Linked DNA regions of Homo sapiens: region 1 is linked to region 2. The links are contacts of gene promoters, found by promoter capture Hi-C in human tissues and cell types (Jung and others, 2019). All regions are on one chromosome and are shown on one strand. The core of a region is centred on a gene start or on the middle of the fragment in contact, and the rest is flanking DNA. Distances in the headings are between cores, read along the strand shown. Region 1 overlaps LOC102724687 (a long non-coding RNA gene). Region 2 holds the start of CRH (corticotropin releasing hormone).

The links. Contacts are between HindIII fragments. The study calls those that stand out against the background at their distance.
Region 1: a fragment that was not itself captured here is called in contact with the fragment with the promoter of CRH in region 2 in 2 of the 25 tissues and cell types used here (spleen and thymus).

What each region holds. Positions count from the first base shown.
Region 1 is chr8:66,274,776-66,280,883 of GRCh38, forward strand. All of the region lies in intron 1 of LOC102724687 (a long non-coding RNA gene), which reads right to left. Among named protein-coding and RNA genes, the nearest start is that of LINC00967, 86 kb to the left of the region's middle. The HindIII fragment of the contact is 5,569 bases long and covers 1,421-6,108 here.
Region 2 is chr8:66,176,561-66,182,480 of GRCh38, forward strand. It overlaps CRH (corticotropin releasing hormone), which reads right to left and starts at 1,904. Exons shown (of 2, transcript NM_000756.4): 1 at 1,733-1,904; 2 at 1-931. The coding sequence starts at 917. The coding sequence ends at 327. It overlaps LOC112268029 (a long non-coding RNA gene), which reads right to left. Exons shown (of 4, transcript XR_002956713.2): 3 at 5,263-5,321; 4 at 3,326-3,400. RefSeq lists an enhancer at 790-859. The HindIII fragment of the contact is 9,798 bases long and covers 1-4,168 here.

The sequences.
Region 1 (6,108 bases), core at 2,955-5,454, 100 kb after region 2:
TGCCTGACAGCCACCGGCACCCTCCAGATGGCAGAGGGGTGGGAACACAGGACGCCTGTACCTAGTGCCCTGTCCCAGGGAACAGGACTTAGGCATTATTTTCAGAATGAGGCGGAGGAAGCGTCTACCTCAAATCTTGCTAACTGTTCAAGGGCCAGTGTCATCAGTGCATGGCCAAATTTGAAATTTTGTCTGAAACCAACCTAAGCTTCAGGTTTGGGTGGGTGCTGGTGATATTTTAATTGCACAAGGTGGGAGGGGGTGTATTTTTAACATGTAAATTAAATCGTATATCTCCCTTGCCTAAAAGTCTCCAACAGCTTGCTATGCCACTTAAAACAAAACCCCAAGACCCACAGCTTGGTCTTGCCATGCCTGCCTCTGGGAGCCACCCTGTCAGCCTCACCCCTTTCTCACTGCACTCAAGTGAGCACCCTGCTTGTCTCTCATCCTGGGACATCCCCCACCACCCTGATCTTTTCCAGGATGGCTGCCAGGACTCAGCTGAGCCAGAACCTCCTCCATGGGGTCAACCTGAAGGAGTTCAGGACACACCACTCCAAAATATGCTGCTTTAGTATACTGGTTACTTTAAGCTGAAGACATTTGAAAACCAACAAATGCTGGGAGAGGCTTTCTCTGAACTCCTCTAATCTGCCTAAAGACATATCCTCCTAAAGGAATTCCATTGTCTTCAATCCCCTCCCCAGGAGTTTTCATCAACCAGAGAAACTGGACCCTTACCACCGGACAGGATGTTAGAAGTCCACACCACGCCCACACAAAACTGGCCCAAACTGTCATTTCTCCCTACTCTTCCAAGGTCTCATCTGTCTTTCCTAAAAACTGTTTAATCTGCCCTAAGTGGCCTACTTCCCCTTCCCCTTCCCCTAGGGAAACAAGCTCTCACATCTTACTGCTTTTTGGGATATTCAGTTTTTATCCTGGGATGCTCCTGTGCACGTAATAGTTAAAATTAATAAATTTGTTGATTTTTTTTCTCCTGTTAATCTGCCTGTTGTTCGTTTATTTCATAGGCCCAGCTACAGAACCCAGGAGAGGAGAGGGGAAGTCTTTGTTTCCCCTAACACCCTCCCCCAGCCCCCGGAGTCACTGTCCTGTCATCTCCAGGGTTATTTTTTCATGGCAGTGTCAGCATCCGAAACTACTCTGTCTTCACTGGGCTCTTCCCTCCAGAATATGAGCTCTGTGAGAGCGGGGCCTTGCCCCTTCGCCTCTTCAAGCTGTCACAGTGTCCAGCCCAGAGTCCACTTGCACTTCGTAGGTCCTGCTCATGCCACCCTCTCCCCTTGGGGAAGCCTCATCCAGCAGAGGAACTCGCCCAGCACCATACTGCACACACGGGGCACTTGAACTGAGCAACCTGGCCCCACAGCAGGCACTTGGTCTCCATAAAGTGCTGCCTCCGCAAATATTTGTCTCAGAAAGGCAAAAAAAGCAAGAAATCCAGAAGTGTCAGGGTTTTTTTGTTGTTGTTTTTTGTTTGTTTTTTGTTTTTGTTTTTGAGACAGGGTCTCACTCTCACCCAGGCTGGAGTGCAGTGGTGTGATCTCAGCTAACTGCAACCTCCACCTCCAGGGGTCAAACAATTACCCTGCTTCAGCCTCCCGAGTAGCTGGGACTACAGGCGCCCGCCACCACGCCTAGCTAATTTTTGTATTTTCAGTAGAGACAGGGTTTTGCCATGTCGGCCAGGCTGGTCTCGAACTCCTGACCTCAGGTGATCCGGCTGCCTCGGCCTCCCAAAGTGCTGGGATTACAGGTGTGAGCCACTGCACCCAGCCTGTCTCCTCCCATGTCTACAGCTGTCCACATTTCTAGCCACACAGACTCTATCCCCCACCTGCAGGGCTCCCGGCCTTCCCTGATTCAGCTGAGGAGCCTTGGCAAGGTGCCCACAGAGGATGCTGGGTCTCTGGGAGCTTGGACCATGTTCTTCCTGCTCATCTGCACGTCAACCAGGGTGCATCGAGCACGTGGCACAGCATCTGGCCTGCAGCCACCCCTCAGTAAAATTCTTGTTGAATGAATGAATAAGAGTGAGCCTGGAGGAAGATGGGTAAGCATGATCGAATGCCTCTGATCCCTGATAGGACAGTACATCATGGCACCACTCAGGACCACTTCAGCAGTCCCCAAACTTAAACATGCCCTCAAGTCTCCCCAGGGAGCTTCTTAAAAATGCAGATTCCTGGACCTCACCCTGCAGATTGTGGAGCTGAGACACAGCCAGGTTTGGGAATCATGGCATCCAATATTAGGAGCTGAGAGATGATTGGACACTGTATGCTTGGCCCAGTGCAGGCAGGAGGATCACTCGTGTCCAGGAGTTTGAGAACAGCCTGGGCAATATAGTGAGACCTCATAAGAGGAAGGAGAGAAAGAAAAGAAAGAAAGAAAGAAAGAGAGAGAGACAGAAAAAAAGAAGAAGGAGGAGGAGAAAGAGAAAGAGAGAGAGAGAGAGAAAATTATATACTTATTCTCCCCCTTAGTTGGTCAATGGCTCTGAATTTCTGGATCGTGATGAGGCTGTGCCACTTTCTGTGCGGTACAGAGCCGGTGCCCTCTTGGGCACTTGGTAAATTGTGAATGTATATTAATAGTCATAAAGCTTTTCCCTTTATCCTTCCAAGCTTCTGCTAAGGGGGAATCCAGTTCTTCCCTCTCACTGTGAATGGTGGGCTTACAGGTCTTGAAAAGAGCATAAAGGAATTAGCCTGGTGATGACAGGAAAGTGAGTGCATCCTTCCTGAATGCAGCCAGCAGCTGCTGGGAGAGACTCCAGGAGACCAGCTCAGGCTCAGAGGAAAGAGAGTGTGTTCTTCAATCAAACCATATTAAGTGCCACAAGAGTCACTTTAAAAGGAGGTGACAGAAAAACACAAAGGGAAAACTGGTCCTAAGGTAATGTGGGCCTGAAATCGAGTCTTAAAAAAGAGACAGTTTGGGAAAAGGGGAGGTATGAATGGAGAGAAATCAAATACTGAGCATGACCTCCCAGCAGAGAGTTGAAAACAATACAGCAGGCTTTCCAGCAGGGAAGAGTTTATTAATAACACTGATAATATAATGAAATGTACAGTTGTGAGGCGCTTCTCCTTCAGAGAGGTCAAAGCATTTTCCTGTGTGGCCAAATCCCTCTGCAATCTGATTCAGTGGTTTCTGTGGCTGGGACGGAAGGGAGGAAACTGAGGCATGGGGAGACGGGTGAAATTAAGCCTCCTGCACCATTCACAGCAGATCAGACCCATGTGAGATCAGACCTCCTTGAGCCCAGGCTGGGTCGCGTGCTAGCCTGTGCAGAACATTGGTGCCTCCCTCCCTGAGCTCCTCCCCTTGCAGCAGTCTCTGCTAGGCTGCCAAGGGGGCAAGTGGGCTGTGTTGATGTTCCTTTGTACTCGCATTGCTCTTAGGATAAAACCCACACTCCTTAGTATGGCATCAGGCCGAGGTCTTCATGATTAAGCAATACCCTCCTCTCCAGCCTTTGTTACAGCAGCAACTAGGAAACTAATACCTGACTCAGGGGTCATCCAGGGGTAGAGAAAGAGTATCCTAATCATTTCCTGCAGCAAAAACAAAATACCTGAGATTGGGTAACTTATAAAGAACATAAACTTTTTATTTCTCACAGTTCTGGAGGCTGGAAAGCCCAGGACCTGGGCACTGGCAGATTCCATGTGTGTCTGGGGAGGGCTGCTCTCTGCTTGCAAGTTGGTGTCTTGTTGCTGCATCCTCCAGAGGGGAGGAGCACTGTGTCCTCACACAGCAGACGGGACAGGAGGGATGAAGTTGCCCCTTCAAGCCCTTTTATAAGGCACTAATCCATTCATAAGGGCCAAGCCCCCATGGCCTACTCACCTCCTAAAGGCCTCACCTTGCAACACTATTGCATTGGGAATTAAGTTTCAACAGGAATTTTGGAGAAGACACAAACATTTAAACCATAGCAGAAGGAAAGGGGCCCCCTCCCGCTCCAGCCCCTTCAGCCTCAACTACTATGGTGGCCCCACATGCCTGTTCCTGTTTCTCAGTTATGCCAACAAGTGCGCCAGGGTCCCCGTCTCCACACCGGGGCTGGGAGTGTCCAGCCCTCTTTCTCCACCTGGATAGCCCCTGAGTTCTTGTATTCGTTTCCTAGTTCCTTCCTAACAACATACCTCAAATTGGGTGTATTAAAGCAACAGAAATGTATGGTCTCAGTTCTGGAGACCAGAAGTCTGAAATCAAGATGCTCGCCAGGGCTATGCTCCCTCCGAAGGTGTGAGGGCCTCTCTCCCAGACTCTGGTGGGTCCCTGGCTTGTGGCGGCATAACTCCAATCATCACATGGCACTCCCCCTGTGTGCGCGGCTGTTCCTGTGCCCAAACCTTCCCTTTTTTTTTTTTTTTTGAGATGGAGTCTCGCTCTGTCTCCCAGGCTGTAGTGCAGTGGCGCGATCTCGGCTCACTGCAAGCTCCCTCTCCCGGGTTCCCGCCATTCTCCTGCCTCAGCCTCCCAAGTAGCTGGGACTACAGGCGCCTGCCACCGCGCCTGGCTAATTTTTTTGTATTTTTTTAGTAGAGATGGGGTTTCACTGTGTTAGCCAGGATGGTCTCGATCTCCTGACCTCGCGATCTGGCCGCCTTGGCCTCCCAAAGTGCTGGAATTACAGGCGTGAGCCACCACGCCCGGCCCGAACCTTCCCTTTTTTATAAGGACACTAGTCATACTGGGTTGGAGCCCATTCTAATGACCTCATTTTAACTTGATTACCCCTGTAAAGGACCTAATTCCAAATAATGGCACATTCTGAGGTACTGGGGCTGAGGATTCCCACATATCTTTCTTGCAGGGAACACTGTTCCACTCATAATGGTCCTAAAAGCCATAATTTGAGCATCACCCCTAGGCCGGGCTGGGCTGAGTGTCCTTCCCCTGCACCTCTCTGGTGTCCTGCCTGGTCCTCATCACACCACATTATGAAGCCCACTTGTCTGTGCTCCCCACTTGCCTGTGACTCTGAGAGAAGAAATGGAGGCTTCTCTCAGATCCTACTCAGGTGGGTACATTGTGGGCATCAAACATGTTCCAATGAATGAACGCAGACAGTGATGGATCTTGCCAACGGTGGTGCTGGCTCCATTACCCGCCATCACCACAGGAGTACAGGTGAACACATGGTCAGCAGGCTTGAGTGACCTCTGTCCAGACTCCGGCCTCAAGGACAACTAGGTGAGCTGGCAAATTTAGTCCATTTGTCTCATGCCAACCTGGTCCCGACAGCTGGAAACTTCAGCAAAGATGGGGGCCCACAGGATGGCTTTTCAGGAGCTCCAAACCATTGTCCTGAATGTCATCTTTCAAGTTGTGATCATGAATGGCTGCCAAGATGAAGAGAATTTTTTTTTTCTAGTTGTTTTTCTCCCTGATCTTTCTCAGCACCCCATGGACCCATTCTTCTAGATGAGAGCCCTTGAAGGGGAACAATAGCAGAAACTCAAAGCTGTTGCTAAAATGTGCAGCTTGCTTCTGTCCCAACATGCAGAGCAGTTGCAGGGCCGCCACTCACCCATTACTTTCTCATATTCTCTCTGCTGCAAGTCAAAGGCCCACTCGGGGCTGGCTCACGTCCCTGTTGTGGCTGGACCAGTCAGGACATTGCTCAGTGCTGGGTTTCTGACTGTAGCATCTGGCCTGTTCAAAGCAAGTTTTGAAATTAAAACCACTATCTTTCTACCCAGCTGTGGTAAAAATGCTGAAGATTAATTTGGAAGTGTAGGTCACAGCTGTTCTTCAATAACTGGCACATCTGTGTGGACGCTCTTATTTCTGTCTTAGTTCTTTCCTGCTGCTCTAACAACATACCTTAGACTGAGTAATGTATAAATCACAGAAATTTATTGCTCACAGATCTGGGCATTGGGACGTTCAAGATCAAGGAGCTGGCAGGTTTGGTGTCTGGTGATGGCCCATTTCTAATGATAGTGCCTTCTAGCTGTGTCCTCACATGGTGAAAGGAGCATGCAAGCTTTCTCAAGCCTCTCTTATACGGACACTAATGCCATCTACTGGGGCTTTACCCTCATGACTTAATCACATCCTAAA
Region 2 (5,920 bases), core at 654-3,153:
CAACAAAAACAATTGAGTGACTTCTGTCTGCTTTTTCAAACAAAACGTTTTCTCACAGGTCTACATTCTCTTTAAAACACCACTATAAACACCTGGAAACGGAAACTAAACGTAGACAAAACGAATAACATTGTGTTGCTGCTGCACGTGAATACACTTTGTGCATGCTAAGTAAGGGGTATAGGCTCTCTCCCTCTCTCCCTCTATGTTTCAAGCTATATAAAAATAAACAAATGGCATAAGAGCAGCGCTATGGTACAGAATACTGTATTTTTTTAAATTTTTTTTGTGCTAAATGCAGATTCTTTTTGGCCAAACGCACCGTTTTATTTCCCAATAATCTCCATGAGTTTCCTGTTGCTGTGAGCTTGCTGTGCTAACTGCTCGGCCCTGGCCATTTCCAAGACTTCCCGGAGGAGGTGGAAGGTGAGATCCAGGGAGATGGGAGGCTCCTCGGACCGCCTTTCTCTCTCCGGTGCCTCCTGGTGGCCGCCGAGGGCATTCCTAGCGCCGCGCTCCGCGAGAGCCGCGGGGCTGTCGAGCGAGCGCCGAGGCAGCAGCAGCTGCTGCAGCAACACGCGGAAAAAGTTGGCGGTCGCCTGTTCCGGCGAAGGGCGGCTGCCGCTGCCTCCGGCGAGGAGCGAGGAGGCGGGCGAAAGGGGAGCGGCCGGGCTCTTGTTGAGGTTCCCCAGGCGGAGGAAGTACTCCTCTCCCATGCGGAGCAGGACCGGCCGAGCCTGCGGCTGCTGGGGCTGCTCGGACTGCGGCGGCGGCTGGAAGAAATCCAAGGGCTGAGGGTGCTGCGGCGCCTGCCGAGCTCCCGGGACCGGCCCGCGGCTCAGGAGCGCCCTGCATGGCGGGCAGGGCAGGAGAGCCACCAGCAGGACTCCCGCGGACACAAGCAGCGGCAGCCGCATGTTAGGGGCACTCGCTGCGGCACAGAGGTGGGCGGAGGGCGGAATGAGAGAGGGGAAGAGAGAAAGAAAGAGTTGGTTAGAGTTCGCTCAGCTGGGAGGTGCACACGGGGTCTTCCTACGGGACTGCCTTAGACGTGCTGGGCTTTGGCCTCAGTGATTCGGATGGGCGCTGTCCGCGGTGCTGAAGCGCCTGGGGAGCGGGGAAAGGGGGCGCCTGCAGGGCTCCGCACCTAAGCTCATGCGCTCACCGGCCAGGAGTGACCCTTCTTTCTAGACTCTGAAAGGACGGTCCCTGCGTCCTCTTCCTAACGATCCTCAAAACTAATTTTCCCGATCCTAGAGAAGAGCCACAGATTTAAGATCCCACCCGCGCTGACTACCTCCCTTCCGGATATTTCAGCATTTTCTTCCAAATTGAGAACTACTGCCTCATGGTCCTCCCTCTCCACTTCTGCCCTTGCTGCCTTATCTCGGGGGTTAGGATAGAAGGGGGTGGGGGAGCTCCTTTACACAGCCAGCAAGGAGCAACTGGCAGCACGGGTAACGAAGAGCAGCCGTCTAAGTTTGCTTTTGCCACATCCCAGCTACTATTGTAATCTTAAGGAATAGTCCGCGAACACGCGCGCACACACACACGCACGCACGCGCGCATACACACACACACATACGCATACACACATGCATACACACACACACACGCACGCACACACATGCATACACACGTACACAGGCAGGGGCAGCCGGCTCCGCGGCGCACATCGCGGCAGCTCAGGCAACGCAAAGTTGGTGGCGTGTTCCGTCCAGGCGCTCCCTACCTTCCCAGGCGCTTCGCAGGTGAGCCGGGTGCTGCCGCCTCTCTGCAGAGAGACGTCTCCGGGGGCTTTCTCTGGAGGTTGTCTTCCTTTCTCTTTACTGTTCCCACTCTCTTTTTCTTTCTCTCCTCTCTTTCCCCTCAGTCTCTCAATGGACTTGGTCTCTGAGTTTCTCCACTCCAGAGCCTGGAGTGGGATTTTATAGTGTCGACCCTCTTCAAAAACCACGCAGCATTTGCCTAATAAGCTGACGCTCTCTTGACAGCTCGATTGCGTGCTGCCTCTGCTCCTGCATAAATCATAGGGCCCTGCCAAGGAACGAGGGGCAGAATTTTGCTATCTCAACACTGAATCTCACATCCAATTATATCAACAGATATTTATCGCCTCTTGGTGACGTCAACGAGCCCTAAAATGGAAGGGCTTCTTATGACTTGTCCATTGACAAAAATTCTTGAATGAGATTTCCCAAGTGTGAAAACATATTGACCTCTTACTATGAAAGGCCATATTAGGGGTGTGCAAAGAGACAGCGAATGGGAGGAGGAAGGGGAAGTGGGAAGGAAGTGAGGTGTCCCAGTGCAGCCCTGCCAGGAAAGCAGCAGCCAGTTGGAGGGGGTGGACCTGGATGCCCCTTCTCCTAACCTCCCTGACCAGGTGTCTCTGACAACACCTCAGTATCTGGAAATATCCCTTTGCTAGAGACAGAGTCCCACCATCTTTCTGCCTGGAAAAGAATGAAGCATCAGGAGAGGGGTGTGCAGGAACATCCAGCTTTTAAACGTCTATCTGCTTTTTCCTCCCAAGAGCAAGCACATAAAGGAGTTATGAGCCTGCAGAAGCAAGGCCAATAAATCTCTCAAAATGCAGTTCAAGTTTTTTAGATGATGACAAGAGCTACTCCCATAGTGAAGGGGCACAAACCGGGGTTAGTAAGGGGTGCGGCAAAGATTTTAGGTTATCTCAGAAACTCTCTGCTCCTTTTTTTGTCTCTCTTCTCACAATCTAAAATTAATTGTGGACTCCCTTTTCTATTCCCAAATTAAAGAGAGAGGCGGCCAGTGAGAGATGCATGAGTTAAACAAGCTTTACTTATTCTACTGAATGCAAACTCAATGAGAGGCATCCATTCTAACTTCCTAATCTATGTTGAAAAAGGCTTAAACTGCTTGACTACAGGGCTAAATTCATTAGTTACATGTTTTCATTGGTCAATATTGAGTCTGTAAAAAAAAACTCGTTCATTTCACCTCCAAATACTATCAACATCCATAATAGTATCCACATCTGGGCCACCCAGGGTGGTTCTTTTTAATTATTTCTTTTTCCAAATCCAAATGTGCTTCATGTCAGCCTGTTAAATAAATAAATGCTCTCTGACATGTCGCAGAATGGAATGGAATGCTAAGCCTGTAAAACTATATTCAATTTTTGATTAATTGACACTATCATATAGGTGGGAGGCAGTTACCTCTAATTCTGCAATTCAAAATGCAATTCCAAGTTCTTGTGCCTGTGATTCAATTCAGCTTCCAGATAACCATCAGAGTTGTTTATCGGAAATTTCCTGCTCCTCATTTCTGATTACTTCTGCTGCTTCCTTTGTAGCTAATGTGACAAATGATGCAATGCATATTTCAACTTCCATTTTGGGTCTATACCAATCCACAACTGCTCTTAGGAACAAAGGGAAGGCAGGGAGAGAAATGTTGACAGTTTGCAGAGAAGCCAGCCCATAGTTGGATCACTGCACCATGTTATGTACTTTTGACATAAGAGAACAGAGAGAATGTGCCTACTTGGAAAGATGTGAGTTGTTAATAGAAGATCATGATTATGGAAAATGGTTGAGTTTCTGGGAGAAAGCTGTGTTTTATATTGGTAGGAAAGCACACAGAACCTTAGATTTTGTTATTGTGGGCTTTTTTTTTTTTTATTAAGCTGGAATGGGTTCAACATTTTTGCTTACTTTCCTTTATGAACTGTTTTCTGACCCTGTTAGCAGATTTCAGCTTGGATGTCAATCTGGAGGTGAAACGTTGACTTGGAATAGGAAGTTTCAGTGCAGTAAATGGACACAGAAGATAAACTAGGAAAGGGATGTGGTTATGAGTTTAGCTGGGGAGGTCTGGGAGGTTCTTCCAGAGAAGACACAACAAGTTTTGGGCTCTGACTAAACCCATGCCCATACAAATCTCTCTCCCATTGGGCTATCTGGGGGATATTGTTTTAGTATAGCTCCCTCATCACTGTTGAGTCCTTGCTGTGAGGTTTTCTTGGGGTAAGTCATTAATAGAGCCAAAGTGGCTCCAACTAGGGAGTAAGGAAAAAAATGTTCCTGAACCCCAGAGGAAGAGAAGCTATGCACAGCCACAATTTATCTGTATTTGTCTGTTCTCACACTGCTAATAAAGACATACCTGAGACTGGGTAATTTATAAAGGAAAGCAGTTTAATGGACTCACATTTTCACATGGTAGGGGAGGCCTCACAATCATGGCAGAAGGCAATGGAGAAGCAAAGACACGTCTTACATGGTGGCAGGCAAGAGAGAGCATGTGAAAGAGAACTCCCCTTTCTAAAACCATCAGATCTGATGAGACTTATTTACTATCACAAGAACAGCATGGGAACAACCCACCCTTATGATTCAGTTACCTCCCACCAGGTCTCTCCCACAACACGTGGGAATTATGGGGGCTACAATTCAAGATGAGATTTGGGTGGGGACACAATCTAACCATATCATTATCCAAAATGTATATCTCATTAAATCACGCAGTTTTCACATTAGAAATGACTTAAAGAGATCACTTGGTTTAAATGAGAACCAGAGAAGTTAAGTGACTTACCTGAAGTCACTCAGCAAGTTAGTGGTAAAGTGAGAATTAGGAACCAGCTCTTTTGATTGCAAGCCCATATTATTTGCATAATGTAACAATAACCTTTGGACTTTCTTTTCCAGCAGAGGCACACAAACTGAGGTGAAAAGATGAATTTTAAAATATTTTAGAGCTAGAATCTCACTTTCTTGCCCAGGCTGAAGGCACTGTGATACTCACTGCAGCCTAGAACTCCAGGACTCAAGCGATCCTCAGACTCCTGAGCAGTTGGAATTATAGGCATCAATCACCATGCCTGGCCTGAGAAGATGCATTTAGATAAAGTAATATATTCACACACCAATTGTGGAGTAGCTTTTTATACATTTTCCTTATTTGATAAACTAAGGCATGAGAATGCAGAAATTCTCTGTGCATGCTCATGTCTGTGGCACCTGATTTTCAATCTGTGTGTGCATACATTGCAATTTACTTTTCAGTATTACCAAATTAAAAGCATTAATTTGATTATTCTGCCTAGGTGACCTTTGAAAAAAGTGATCTTTGGATACAGTATGGAGGGTGAAAGGGATTCTTAAAATTATAATATAGATCTATGATTTGAGAAATAACATAATGCAGATAACTTAAATGTGCTATAAACTAAATATCCAAATACATAGAAATCACCACTGACAGATCTGATCTTACATGTAAGAATAACTTCTGGAAAGGAGTCATTGGAGAATCAATTTCAATGCTTTTAGAACCTAAAAACACAATCCAAGAAACATGGGCACAAAAACAGGGATTACTTCATGTTTTAAATCATATTTTTCAATGGCTACATAATATACGGTATAGGTAAATTAAAACAGAGCCAACACAACAGTCTAATAAAGAAATATCAGAAATAATAGGTAACTAGTGGGCATATTTTTGTCACTTGTATCACCTTGTACCTTCACAAGCTTCTATTAGCACAGCTCGTGGTGAACAAACACCATCTCCAAGTTGGCTAACAGAAACATTTGTTGAAATGAATCTACTGTTTCCAATGAGAGCCTTCAGAAATGCCTAGGGTGGACAGGTGGTTTGGTAATTGTTTGTAACTGTTCTTTAGATAGATTAAGTAACTGCCTTCTGCTTCCACAGGAGGACTGAGGAAAGGCCCTCAAACAGCAAAATATCTAACTGCTTCACTGGCAACAATAACTTCTGTTAGTCTCTTCTGATTATCAAAGCCATATGTGCTCTTTGCAGAAAACTTAGAAAAATCAGAAAAGCATAAAGAATATAAAATTCCTCAGAATATCTGAATCTAAAGATCATCACAGATAATTAATATTTTGTTGTTTCCCTTGAGCAT